2 separate regions of the Homo sapiens genome follow, and region 1 is linked to region 2. The links are contacts of gene promoters, found by promoter capture Hi-C in human tissues and cell types (Jung and others, 2019). All regions are on one chromosome and are shown on one strand. The core of a region is centred on a gene start or on the middle of the fragment in contact, and the rest is flanking DNA. Distances in the headings are between cores, read along the strand shown. Region 1 holds the start of COPS6 (COP9 signalosome subunit 6). Region 2 holds the start of PVRIG (PVR related immunoglobulin domain containing).

What was found. The method cuts DNA at HindIII sites, captures the fragments that hold promoters and counts their contacts. A contact is called where the count stands out against the background at its distance.
Region 1: the fragment with the promoter of COPS6 here is called in contact with the fragment with the promoter of PVRIG in region 2 in 1 of the 25 tissues and cell types used here (adrenal gland).

Annotation. Positions count from the first base shown.
Region 1 is chr7:100,084,983-100,090,910 of GRCh38, forward strand. COPS6 (COP9 signalosome subunit 6) reads left to right here and starts at 3,987. Exons shown (of 10, transcript NM_006833.5): 1 at 3,987-4,084; 2 at 4,308-4,433; 3 at 4,633-4,764; 4 at 5,417-5,505; 5 at 5,610-5,672; 6 at 5,920-5,928. The coding sequence starts at 4,009. RefSeq lists enhancers at 2,107-2,800, 4,187-4,878, 4,385-5,584 and a silencer at 3,847-4,036. The HindIII fragment of the contact is 6,643 bases long and covers 1-5,928 here.
Region 2 is chr7:100,217,837-100,223,874 of GRCh38, forward strand. PVRIG (PVR related immunoglobulin domain containing) reads left to right here and starts at 2,113. Exons shown (of 5, transcript NM_001397246.1): 1 at 2,113-2,192; 2 at 2,278-2,628; 3 at 2,711-2,837; 4 at 2,924-2,984; 5 at 3,092-3,654. The coding sequence starts at 2,135. The coding sequence ends at 3,415. It also overlaps a transcript of STAG3 not described here and the pseudogene CASTOR3P. RefSeq lists enhancers at 1-174, 2,003-2,132, 2,193-2,262, 3,653-3,752, 3,773-3,872 and a silencer at 3,183-3,232. The HindIII fragment of the contact is 32,066 bases long and covers 1-6,038 here.

The DNA.
Region 1 (5,928 bases), core at 2,737-5,236, 130 kb before region 2:
CCACAATAATCTCTTGTTTTATGAGCTGTATAATTATCTGAACAATGTTTCAAAAGCACCTGAAACAACAAGGCAAAGGAGTTCTTTAATGTGTGAGAGAGCAGTGCAAACGATCAACTTTACTAACCCTAGAATAATTCTCATCTTGTTTTTATTTTAGCCTTCTATCTAGCTGAGAAGCACTATGCTCCTTGGAAGCTGCCTAGCATTCTTTAAAGAGAGACATTTTTCTGGCCAGGCACGGTGGCTCACACCTGTAATCCTAGCACTTTAGGAGGCCGAGGCAGGTGGATCGGTTGAGGCCAGGAGTCTGAGAACTGACTAGCCAACATGCTGAAAACCCATCTCTACTAAAAATACAAAAATGAGCCAGGTGTGGTGGCGCAAGCCTGATATCTCAGCTACTTGGGAGGCTGAGGCACAAGAATCACTTGAACCCAGGAGGTGGAGGTTGCAGTGAGCCAACATCTCACCAAAGAGATACATTTTTCTGACCTGGTTTTTCCAAATAGAAACAAGGCATTAGGTACTTTTCTTTGACAACCCTCTCAGTTTGTCCAGACCTGGTTGGTTTATCACTGGGGACTAGAATAAAATAAATTCCTTTTTAACTTCCCTTTGGCGAGAAGACCCCTCTTCCTGCAGGATTTCTCAAGTCCGTTCCATTGAGGGTTGCTGGCCCCTTCAAGTTTCCTTCATCCAGGCTCCTAAACGGAGAGATTGCATAATTCCCCTGTAAATTACAACTATCACCATATGGGGCTGTTCAGGGTCATAACACAGTTCTTCACCTGCTTTCTAGGAGCTTACACTTTGGGTGGGGATACAGACACCTAGAGCCAGAGTATGTCTGGCTCTTTCTAGGTGTCTGTACCCCTCTTTGTAGGGGTGGCAGGAGGAGCAGTGTGTGCAACTTGCTTAGGTTTAGGGGTAAGGAGGGGGTGGAGCAGCCTAGGCTAGCCAGATGTGAATTTTGGGTTTTTTTATGAGACAGAGTCTTGCTTTGTCAACCAGGCTGGAGTGTGGTGGTGTGATCTCGGCTCGCTGCAACCTCCGCCTCCCGGGTTCAAGTGATTCTCCTCCCTCAGCCTCTCGAGTAGCTGGGATTACAGGCATGCACCACCACGCCTGGCTAATTTTTGTATTTTTAGTAGAGATGGGGTTTCACCATCTCTACTGGTCGAGACCAGGCTGGTCTTGAACTCCTGACTTCAGGTGATTCACCCACCTCGGCCTCCCAAAGTGCTGAGATTACAAGCATAAGCCACTGTGCCTGGCCAGGAACTCAGTATTTAAGGGAAGAAAGCATGCAAGAGGAAAATAAGGAAGAAGGAGAGGCAGTGAGGCAAATGTTTTTTGTTTTGTTTTGTTTTGTTTTTCTTAAGACAGTGTCTCGCTCTGTCAGCAGGCTGGAGTGCAGTGGCGCAATCTCGGCTCACTGCAACCGCTGCCTCCCAGGTTCAAGCGATTCTTGTGCCTCAGCCTCCCAAGTAGCTGGTACTACAGGTGCGTGTCACCATGCCCAGCTAATATTTTGTATTTTTAGTAGAGACGGGGTTTCACAGTGTTAGCCAGGATAGTCTCAATCTCTTGACCTTGTGATCTGCCTGCCTCGGCCTCCCAAAGTGCTGGGATTACAGGCGTGAGCCACTGCACCCAGTCCAGCAAATGGTTATTTTATTTTATTTTTTGAAATAGAGTCTCAATCTGTTGCCCAGGCTGGAGTCCAGTGGGTCCATCTCGGCTCACTGCAATCTCCACCTCCTAGGCTCAAGTGATTCTCCTGCCTCAGCCTCCCAAGTAGCTGAGATTACAGGTGGGCACCACCACACCCAGCTAATTTTTGTATTTTTAGTAAAGATGGGGTTTTGCCATGTTGGCCAGGCTGGTCTTGAACTCCTGGCCTCAAGTGATCCACTCGCTTCCCAAAGTGCTGCGATTACAGGCATGAGCCACTGCACACCCTGCTGCACATTGTTACTTTTTTGTGAGTTTCTCATTAGTGTTCAGTAAATCTACATTTTATGTAAGATACAATAAACATTTGAAAAGAGGGAGTGGAGGAAAAAGTCAGTTATGCATCTGTCTCAGGATAGGTGGAGGGATGATTCCTGGTCTCTTCCTTGTTCTATAATTGGGAAGATAAGCTTGTAATCAACATTGTCAGTATGAGATTTCACAGAACTCGGATTAGGGCTGGTTTATAGGGGGAATGTTTATGCTGAAAGATTCAGAGGCTAATGAGGAATTTCCTGGCAAGCAATTTGTGAGGAAGACCATCTGGGGAGGTATATGCCTTTTGCCATTGTAGGAGCCTGGCTTATGTATGAGGCTATGACACAGGGTTGTGGAATTACAGCTATCTGGGAACAAAAAGGAAGGGAGTTTTGACTCACTTCCCAAGCATAAATTTCCTCGGCATGCCTCTACCATACCCAGCGAATTTTGTTTCCATGTTTTGTTGAAACAAGGTGTCACCATGTTGCCAAGGCTGGTCTCAAACTCCTGGGTTCAAGTGATCCTCCAACCTTGGCCTCCCAAAGTGCTAGGATTACAGGCGTGAGTCACCATGCCTGGCCTTGTGGAGTTATCTTCTTTCTTTCTTTCTTTCTTTCTTTTTTTTTTTTTTTTGAGATGGAGTCTCACTTTGTCTTGCCCGGGCTGGAGTGCAGTGGCGCGATCGCAGCTCACTGCAGCTTCCACCTCCCGGGTTCAAGCAATTCTCCTGCCTCAGGCTCCTGAGTAGCTGGGATTACAGGCGCCTGCCACCACGCCTGGCTAATTTTTGTATTTTTAGTAGAGATGGGGTTTCACCATGTTGGCTAGGCTCGTCTCAAACTGCTGACCTCAAGTGATTGTCTGGCCTCGGTCTCCCAAAATGCTGGTATTACAGGTGTGAGCCACCATGCCTGGCCTTGTGGGGTTATTTTCGAAAGTCCTTGAGATAATTCCTATCTCAGACATGCAAGCATGAGACCTTCTCCTTGGTGTTCTCATGGCTCCAATTTGTTTGGACCTGACAATGTGATTTTGTCCTGGTATCTGCAACTTTCACAAGATGGAGCAACTAACTCAACACCAGATTCCACCCCTAATTATTCCTTCATTCACTCAAAAAGTATCTAGGCTCCAATGTGTCAGGCACCGTGTTGGTCACAGGGGATACCATGATGAACAAGAGAAGGAACCACAGGCTTTTGAATGGGAAACTAAAGCATGTGAAAAACACACGGAGAGCTGGGTGCGGTGGCTCATGCCTGTAATCCCAGTGCTTTGGGAGGCTGAGGATGGAGGATCTCTTCTGCCCGGGAGTTGGAGACCAGCCTGGACAACCTAGTGAGACCCCCGTCTCTATCAAAATAAAAACAAATAATAAAATTAGCTGGGTGCGGTGGGGTGCGCCTGTAGTCCCAGCTACTCGGGAGGCTGAACTGGGAGGATCACTTGAGCCCAGGAGTTTGAGGGTGCAGTGAGCTGACATCAGGCCACTGCACTCCAGCCTGGGCGACAGAGCGAGACCCTGTCTCAAACAAAACAAAACAAACCACCACCACCACCAGACATGAGGGCCAGTGCAGCTGAAGCCTGAAGATCAAGGGCTAGAAGAGGCCAGGCCGGGGCCAGATCAGGCAGGGCCTTGCAGGTTGTGGTTAGTTGTTTGGATTTTATTGTGAGGGAAATAACACGACATGTCATTCCTTCTGCAACAGCCTTAAGAACTAGGCGTTCTTATCCCAATTTCACAGACGAGGACGATCAAGTCGTTAATTTGTCAAAGGTCACCCGCAGGCGACAGGCGGGGACAGGGTCTGGGAAAACCCGCTAGGCACCGAGGCCCAGAGGGCGTCGGGCGTCCCCGCACCGAGTGCCGCCCGCCGCGACCCGGGAACTGCCTGCTCCCCGGACGCCAGGCCCGCCGCACGCCGCGGGGACACCGAACATGCGCCGCTCGCCTTACGGAAGCCGGGAAGGAAGGGGGCGGGGCCGAGGCTGGCGGGCGCGGGGAAAATGGCGGCGGCGGCGGCGGCGGCTGCAGCTACGAACGGGACCGGAGGAAGCAGCGGGATGGAGGTGGATGCAGCAGGTAACGGGCCGTGCGGGGGTGGCTTCCGGAGACCTCCTTCAGGGGTTCGTTGAGGCCTCCCTGTGCTCCCGGGAGAAGGGAGGAGGGCGGAGCAGCAACATCTTTCCCTGGGATAAGTTACGGGAGGAAAGTGTGGCCCGGGCTCCGCCGTCCCCCACTGCCATCTCCAGGGAAGAACGTGGGGCCCGGACTCTCACCCTCTCTCCTTTCCCTCCACCCTTAGTAGTCCCCAGCGTGATGGCCTGCGGAGTGACTGGGAGTGTTTCCGTCGCTCTCCATCCCCTTGTCATTCTCAACATCTCAGACCACTGGATCCGCATGCGCTCCCAGGAGGGGCGGCCTGTGCAGGGTGAGTGTTGGGCATAGACTCCAGTCTCTTCTCCTTGCTCACCTCCCCCAGGCAGTGGTCTTTTCCCCTTCCTCTACTGGAGCCAATTCCCCCTCCCCCAAATCATCGTTTCCCCAATACATGGTTCCCACTGATCTCAGACCCTCAGGTCATAGAAGTTTCTTTACCCTCACCTTTTCCATGTCATTCTCTTTCCCAGTGATTGGGGCTCTGATTGGCAAGCAGGAGGGCCGAAATATCGAGGTGATGAACTCCTTTGAGCTGCTGTCCCACACCGTGGAAGAGAAGATTATCATTGACAAGGAATATTATTACACCAAGGAGGAGCAGTGTGAGAGTGGAATAGATGTGGGGAAGAGGAGTGGGAGTTAAAAAAAAAATGTACAGGGTGGGGAAGATGGAGAGGGTTGGAAAGAAACAGGAGAGGAGACCAAGAACAGGGGAGAAAAAGTGAAGAGTAGCTGGAGAGATCTCAGAAAAAGAAAACGTTCAGAGTTCTTTCTCAAAAGAAAGCAAAGGATGAGAGGAGACAGGATAGAAGGGAGTAGTTATTCTAAACTGAGCCAGGATTTGAGGAGGGAGGAGAGAAGCTGGTGAAAATACACCAGGAGCTTCACATTGAGGAAGGATGGTTTAAAGAATTACTATGTCAGGCCGGGCTCAGTGACTCATGCCTCTAATCCCAGCACTTTGGGAGGCCGAGGTGGGTGGATCATGAGGTCAGGAGTTCAAGACCAGCCTGGCAAACATAGTGAAACCCCACCTCTACTAAAAATACAAAAATTAGTCTGGCATGGTGGTGCGTGCCTGTAGTCCCAGCTACGCGGGATGCTGAGGCAGGAGAATTGCTTGAACCTGGGAGGCGGAGGTTGTGGTGAGCTGAGATCATGCCACTGCACTCCAGCCTGGGCAACAGAGCGAGATTCCGTCTCAGAAAAAAAAAAAAAAAGAATTACTATATGTTCTGGCCCCTTCCCCTCTAGTTAAACAGGTGTTCAAGGAGCTGGAGTTTCTGGGTTGGTATACCACAGGGGGGCCACCTGACCCCTCGGACATCCACGTCCATAAGCAGGTATGCATGCTCACACCTGTGCATGCTGGGGCAGAGAATGGAGAATGAGGGGAAGGAGAAAGGTAGGGGGCACTGACTTCCTGTGCATTGTCCCTCTCTTCCAGGTGTGTGAGATCATCGAGAGCCCCCTCTTTCTGAAGTTGAACCCTATGACCAAGCACACAGATGTGAGTAATACTCCATGCCTACTCTGTCATGATTGTCGCTATACCTTTTACTGTGTGACACTCCTCTATTGGGGAATGCCAGATGCCACTTACCAGCTGTGACTCTGGCTTAGTCATTTAATCTCCAAACTGTGAAAGGAGGTAATCCCTACTTCATTGGTTTCTTGGGAAGATGAGAGGAAATGTGTAAAAGCAGCTAGCCCAAATGTTGGCATATAGTGTTCAGGTTTCTCCGTCTCCTTCACAGCTTCCTGTC
Region 2 (6,038 bases), core at 863-3,362:
TCTAGAAGGTGGAGCCAGGTGTACAGAGCGGAACATGAAAGTGAAACAGGAGGGTGACTGCTGAAGCACAGCATCACAGGGAGACGGTTAGGCCTCCGGATGGCTGTGGGCGGGCCTGACTGATGTCAGGCCTTCCACAAGAGGTGGTGGAGCAGCGTCTTCTCTAACTCCCCCAGGGAAAGGGAGTCTCCCTTTCCCGGTCTGCTAAGTAACAGTTATCTTCCCAGGCACTGGCACCACTGCTAGACCAAGGTCTGCTAAGTAACGGGTGCCTTCCCAGGCACTGGCATTACCACTAGACCAGGGAGCCCTCTAGTGGCCCTGTCCGGGCATGACAGAGGGTTCACACTCCTGCCTTCTGGTCACTTCTCAGCATGTCCCTTCAGCTCCTATCTCTGTATGGCCTGGTTTTTCCTAGGTTATAATTGTAGAACAAAGATTATTATAATATTGGAATAAAGAGTTATGCTATAAACTAATGATTAGTAATATATATAATCATAGCTATAATCTATTTCTAGTATAACTATTCTTATTCTATGTATTTTCTTTATTATACTGGAACAGCTTGTGCCCTCGGTCTCTTGCCTTGGCAGCTGGGTGGCTTGCCTCCCACATGGCACTGCTGGGCATTGTCTGTTAATATTGAATAATTGTTTTAAGATTATTTTCAATAAGGCTTTACCTTTTTTAACTTGCACTGTGGCCATGAGCTCTGCTGGAAGTGACTTGTTGGTGTTATCTCCTCAGTTATAAAGTGAAGGGATTTTTCTTTTTCAGATTACTGAGAGTCTTCCGTTACTAGGTAAGTCACCGCATCCTTATAACTCCAGGTGACACTGACTGGGGTTTATGGGATGAAAGAGGAGTGTGTGCTTGGATGATGGGGTGTGATAGTGAAGGGGTGAAAGGTTTCTTCTCACACATAGACATCGTGAGGTCTTCCTTGAGCTCTTTAGAGCCTTCCCTCGGGATAGGATGAAATACTGAGATCCTAGAAAGGATTCACAAAACGTGTCACTCATCAGCGCAGATTCACCGATTCACCCCTAGATGTGTGTGGGATTTGGATGGCAGAGAGAAACAGGCACTGAAGATTTTTGGTCAGGACAGGGCAGAGAAATAAGAAGAGTTGAAAATTCACCAAAGGATAGATAAACCCAGGGCGTTTAGAGAAAACCTGTAGTGTGCAAAGGAGCCCAGAATCCTGGGGCAACTTGGAGGGAAATATACTTAATTTGATTCACTAAGTTAGGCCCAGTGAAGGGATTGGGTGGCATAGGTAGAAGCCGAAAAATAAAGTATCTTGTATTGCTGGAGTAGCCTCTGTTTCTGAGGTCACATCCAAACTTAGCGAGGCAGCTTAACCTGGTGAGAGACATGGGTTCAACTCCTGGCTTCTGCACTGCTAGGGCAGAGGACTGCTGTTTGCTGACACAATCTTGGTGCGTTGGAAGTGAAAGGGAAGAGGCACTGGTGGCTGTGCTTTGGGCCCGAGCAGCCAGAAGCCAGTTGCCATCACCTATGACGAGGAGACAGCGCCTGGGGCAGAGCCCAGTATGGGGTGCGTTCAGGGTAGATCAGGAGGTATGAGTGGGTAGTGGGCGAGCCAGGCTGGGGGTTGTGGGGGAGGCCTGCATTGCAGGTGTAAGCGTGGGACCCACATCAGATTGGTAGTGGGTCATGCATGCTGGGCTGGCTCTCAGGTCCTCCCTGCTGGCTTCCCACTCCCAGGGGCTTTCTCCTCCGATTCCTTAGCTGGGTGAGGGGCGGGACAGAGCCCTTTCTTAGGGAAGCCCGGCACCCCTTGCTGTCCAGGGAAGGGGAGTCCTTCTAGCCCCTGACAGCTTCTCTGCCCCTCCCCTGGCCTCCCCAGGCCTAGCCAGGGCTGGGTTCTCACCCACCTGTGCCGCCCTGCCTTGTTACCTGGAAGCACAGCCTTGGGGACTGAGCAGGCCCTCACTGTCACTTTAAGAAGGGAATCAGCCACTTTGTGCTCACCACCTCTGGGGAAGGTGTGAGAGGAGAGAAGGAAGTGGCTGTTTGGCTGCTGACAACATGAAGACTTCCTGCGATGAGAACAGAGGCACAGGTGCCGGCCCTGCAGCCCCCAGAACCTGGACTGGAGGGGGCCATGGGGCACCGGACCCTGGTCCTGCCCTGGGTGCTGCTGACCTTGTGTGTCACTGCGGGTGAGTGCCGGCACCAGAGAGGGGCAGGGGCTGCAGGGAGGGTGATGTAGGACAACAGCCCACCGACCTTGCTGCTGTTCCACAGGGACCCCGGAGGTGTGGGTTCAAGTTCGGATGGAGGCCACCGAGCTCTCGTCCTTCACCATCCGTTGTGGGTTCCTGGGGTCTGGCTCCATCTCCCTGGTGACTGTGAGCTGGGGGGGCCCCAACGGTGCTGGGGGGACCACGCTGGCTGTGTTGCACCCAGAACGTGGCATCCGGCAATGGGCCCCTGCTCGCCAGGCCCGCTGGGAAACCCAGAGCAGCATCTCTCTCATCCTGGAAGGCTCTGGGGCCAGCAGCCCCTGCGCCAACACCACCTTCTGCTGCAAGTTTGCGTCCTTCCCTGAGGGCTCCTGGGAGGCCTGTGGGAGCCTCCCGCCCAGCTCAGACCCAGGTGGGGCCGGGGCGAGGGGTCCAGGAGGGCAGGGAGGGGCTCGGGAACTGGCCACCCATCTGATTCTTGTCTCCGTGCCCAGGGCTCTCTGCCCCGCCGACTCCTGCCCCCATTCTGCGGGCAGACCTGGCCGGGATCTTGGGGGTCTCAGGAGTCCTCCTCTTTGGCTGTGTCTACCTCCTTCATCTGCTGCGCCGACATAAGCACCGGTGAGACCTGGTCCCTGTCCACGTCCCCCTGACACTGGGATGGCCACATGCCCTGCAGAGCTCTGACCATCCTTGCTCTCTCCCAGCCCTGCCCCTAGGCTCCAGCCGTCCCGCACCAGCCCCCAGGCACCGAGAGCACGAGCATGGGTGAGGAGGGGACCTGCTTTGGGGATGAGGTGACAGGGGCAGGGGCAGGGGGGCCAGGGCTGGGCCCAAGCTGTGCAGACTCACTTGACCCTCCTTCCCCCGCGCAGGCACCAAGCCAGGCCTCCCAGGCTGCTCTTCACGTCCCTTATGCCACTATCAACACCAGCTGCCGCCCAGCTACTTTGGACACAGCTCACCCCCATGGGGGGCCGTCCTGGTGGGCGTCACTCCCCACCCACGCTGCACACCGGCCCCAGGGCCCTGCCGCCTGGGCCTCCACACCCATCCCTGCACGTGGCAGCTTTGTCTCTGTTGAGAATGGACTCTACGCTCAGGCAGGGGAGAGGCCTCCTCACACTGGTCCCGGCCTCACTCTTTTCCCTGACCCTCGGGGGCCCAGGGCCATGGAAGGACCCTTAGGAGTTCGATGAGAGAGACCATGAGGCCACTGGGCTTTCCCCCTCCCAGGCCTCCTGGGTGTCACCCCCTTACTTTAATTCTTGGGCCTCCAATAAGTGTCCCATAGGTGTCTGGCCAGGCCCACCTGCTGCGGATGTGGTCTCTGTGTGTGCGTGTGTGGGCACAGGTGTGAGTGTGTGAGTGACAGTTACCCCATTTCAGTCATTTCCTGCTGCAACTAAGTCAGCAACACAGTTTCTCTGATGTCGGCCTCGGCTGTGCTTCTTCTTTGGGGGTGAAGAGAGTGGGGAGGCAGTCTCCACCCCTGGGAGGCAGAAGCCAGGTGAGAACCAGAGTGGGTTGGGGCCTCATTGCAGGGCTGGGGTTGGCCCAGGGAGAGGGCAGTGTCCCAATCTTAGAGATCTGTCCTGGCTTCTCAGAGTGGCAGGGGTGTTGGGGGAGCTTCCTGAGGGACACCTGTGGCTGCCTAGATAGGGCTGGGGGATCCCAGTGGGATGGTCTCTGCTCCAATCCCACCATGTTCTAGGACAACAGCAAGGGTTCCTGGGGCTTTGGCCTGAGAGAAGTCCCTGTGGTTTGACCTGGCTTCCCTCTGCTGGGCTCCCTGCTGTGGCCTGGGCTGGGGTCCTGATGCCCTCCTTCCACAGCTGGCGTTAGGCAGGGTGTGGAGAGTAGGGGGACTCACCTGAAATCTTCCCTCAATCACTTCCCCCGCCTCCTCTCGGGGAAGGCAGAGGCCTTCACAGACATGGGGGACTCCCCACAAAATGTTCCATCCAGAGCCAACCTTTCTGCTTGGTAGAGCTGTGTCTCCCCCTCAGCCTAGTTCCAGGGCGGGTCCGTGTCTCCCACCCCAAACTAGTTCCAGGGTGGGTCCCTGTCTCCCACCTCAGACCAGCTTTGGGGCTGGTCCGTGTCTCCCCCTTCAGACTATCTCTGGGGCAGGTCCATGTCTCCCACCTCAGACTAGCTCCAGGGCAGGTCTGTGTCTCCCCATTTAAACTAGCTCTGGGGCGGGTCCGTGTCTCCCCCATCAGACTAGCTCCGGGGCGGGTCTGTGTCTCCCACCTCAGACTAGCTCCAGGGCAGGTCCATGTCTCCCACCTCAGACTAGTTCTGGGGCGGGTCTTTGTCTCCCCGCTCAGACTAGCTCTGGAACGGGTCCTTGCCTTCCCACTCAGATTAGTTCCGGGGTGGGTCCATGTCTCCCCGCTCAGACTAGCTCCAGGGAAGGTCTGTGTCTCTTCCCTCAGATGAGCTCCTGGCAAAGCCTCCCCCGTCAGACTAAGACTCCTAGGCAGAGCCGTGCCTCCCCCTGGTCCAGCCGGCGACCCCTCATGCCCAAGGCAGCCCTACCCATTGAAGTAGGACATGACATCCATGAGGAGTGTGGCAACAGCAGGCAGCGTGTCGGGGTCCAGGCTGGTGACACAGAACCTGTTGCTCGGGCTGGACAGTGGGTGGATGACCGGCATCTGGACTGTAAGAGCACAAAGATGTCAGGCACTGAGGCTGGGACTGAAAGCAGCAGCTCTGGTGAGTGCAGGGCCTGGGAAGAGGGCTGGGGAGGGCTCAGCCGCAGGCCCTGAGAGACTCATTCACTGCTGCTTCTCCAGCCTCTACCACCAATTACCACCGTCCTGATTCTCCATCTCACTCTCAGGCCCCTGGGCCTTTGCACATGCTGTGCTGGCTGCCTGGGATGCCCTTCCCAACTGGCACCACCTGGCCCCGTTCCTACCTGTGTTCCAGGCTTCAGCACCACAGTCCCTGCCCAGGGAAACCCACCCTGACACCTGGGATTGCAGCAGGAGTGGCCTCTGGCCATTGCTGTATGCATGCACGTCCACCACCCTTGCTAGACATGGCAGCAGGGCCTGCCCAGGACCTTTCCATCACATTTTTTTTTTTTTGAGATGGAGTTTTGTTCTTGTTGCCCAGACTGGAGTGCAATGGCACAATCTCGGCTCACCGCAACCTCCGCCTCCTGGGTTCAAGTGATTCTCCTGCCTCAGCCTCCTCAGTAGCTGGAATTACAAATATGCACCACCACACCCAGCTAATTTTGTATTTTTAGTAGAGACCAGGTTTCTCCATGTTGGTCAGGCTTGTCTCAAACTCCTGACCTCAGGTGAATTGCCTGCCTCGGCCTCCCAAAGTGCTGGGTTTACAAGCATGAGCCACCACACCTTGCCCTTTGCATCCCGTTCTGCCTGGCACTCCATTCATGCTCAGTGGGCAGAAGCCCGTGCTGAGAGCAAGGCTGGTCTACGGCTTGGCCTGGTAACTTCGTGAGGTTTCCCCGCACAAACCCCCGCCCCCAGCTCACCCAGCTTGGGCTTCACGAAGCCACTGGTGATGCCGAGGTTCTCGGCTGCTACAGTCTAGCCACTGACCACAGGATGGTGAACTCTGATGACAACGTGTGGGTGACAAAGGGCAGGTCCCGCTTGAGCACCTAGGGGCAAGAAGTTGAGGCTGTGTGTGCCTGGTGGCCCTGGGGCACCAACCTCTCACCCTGAGACTCTGCCCCCACCCTGGAATAGCGTGGAAGGGCAAGGCTGCAAGGGGTGGGAGATGGGAGTGAGTGTGTCAGAGGCGGGCCCAAGTGTGCAAGGCGTGTCTGTGATGGTC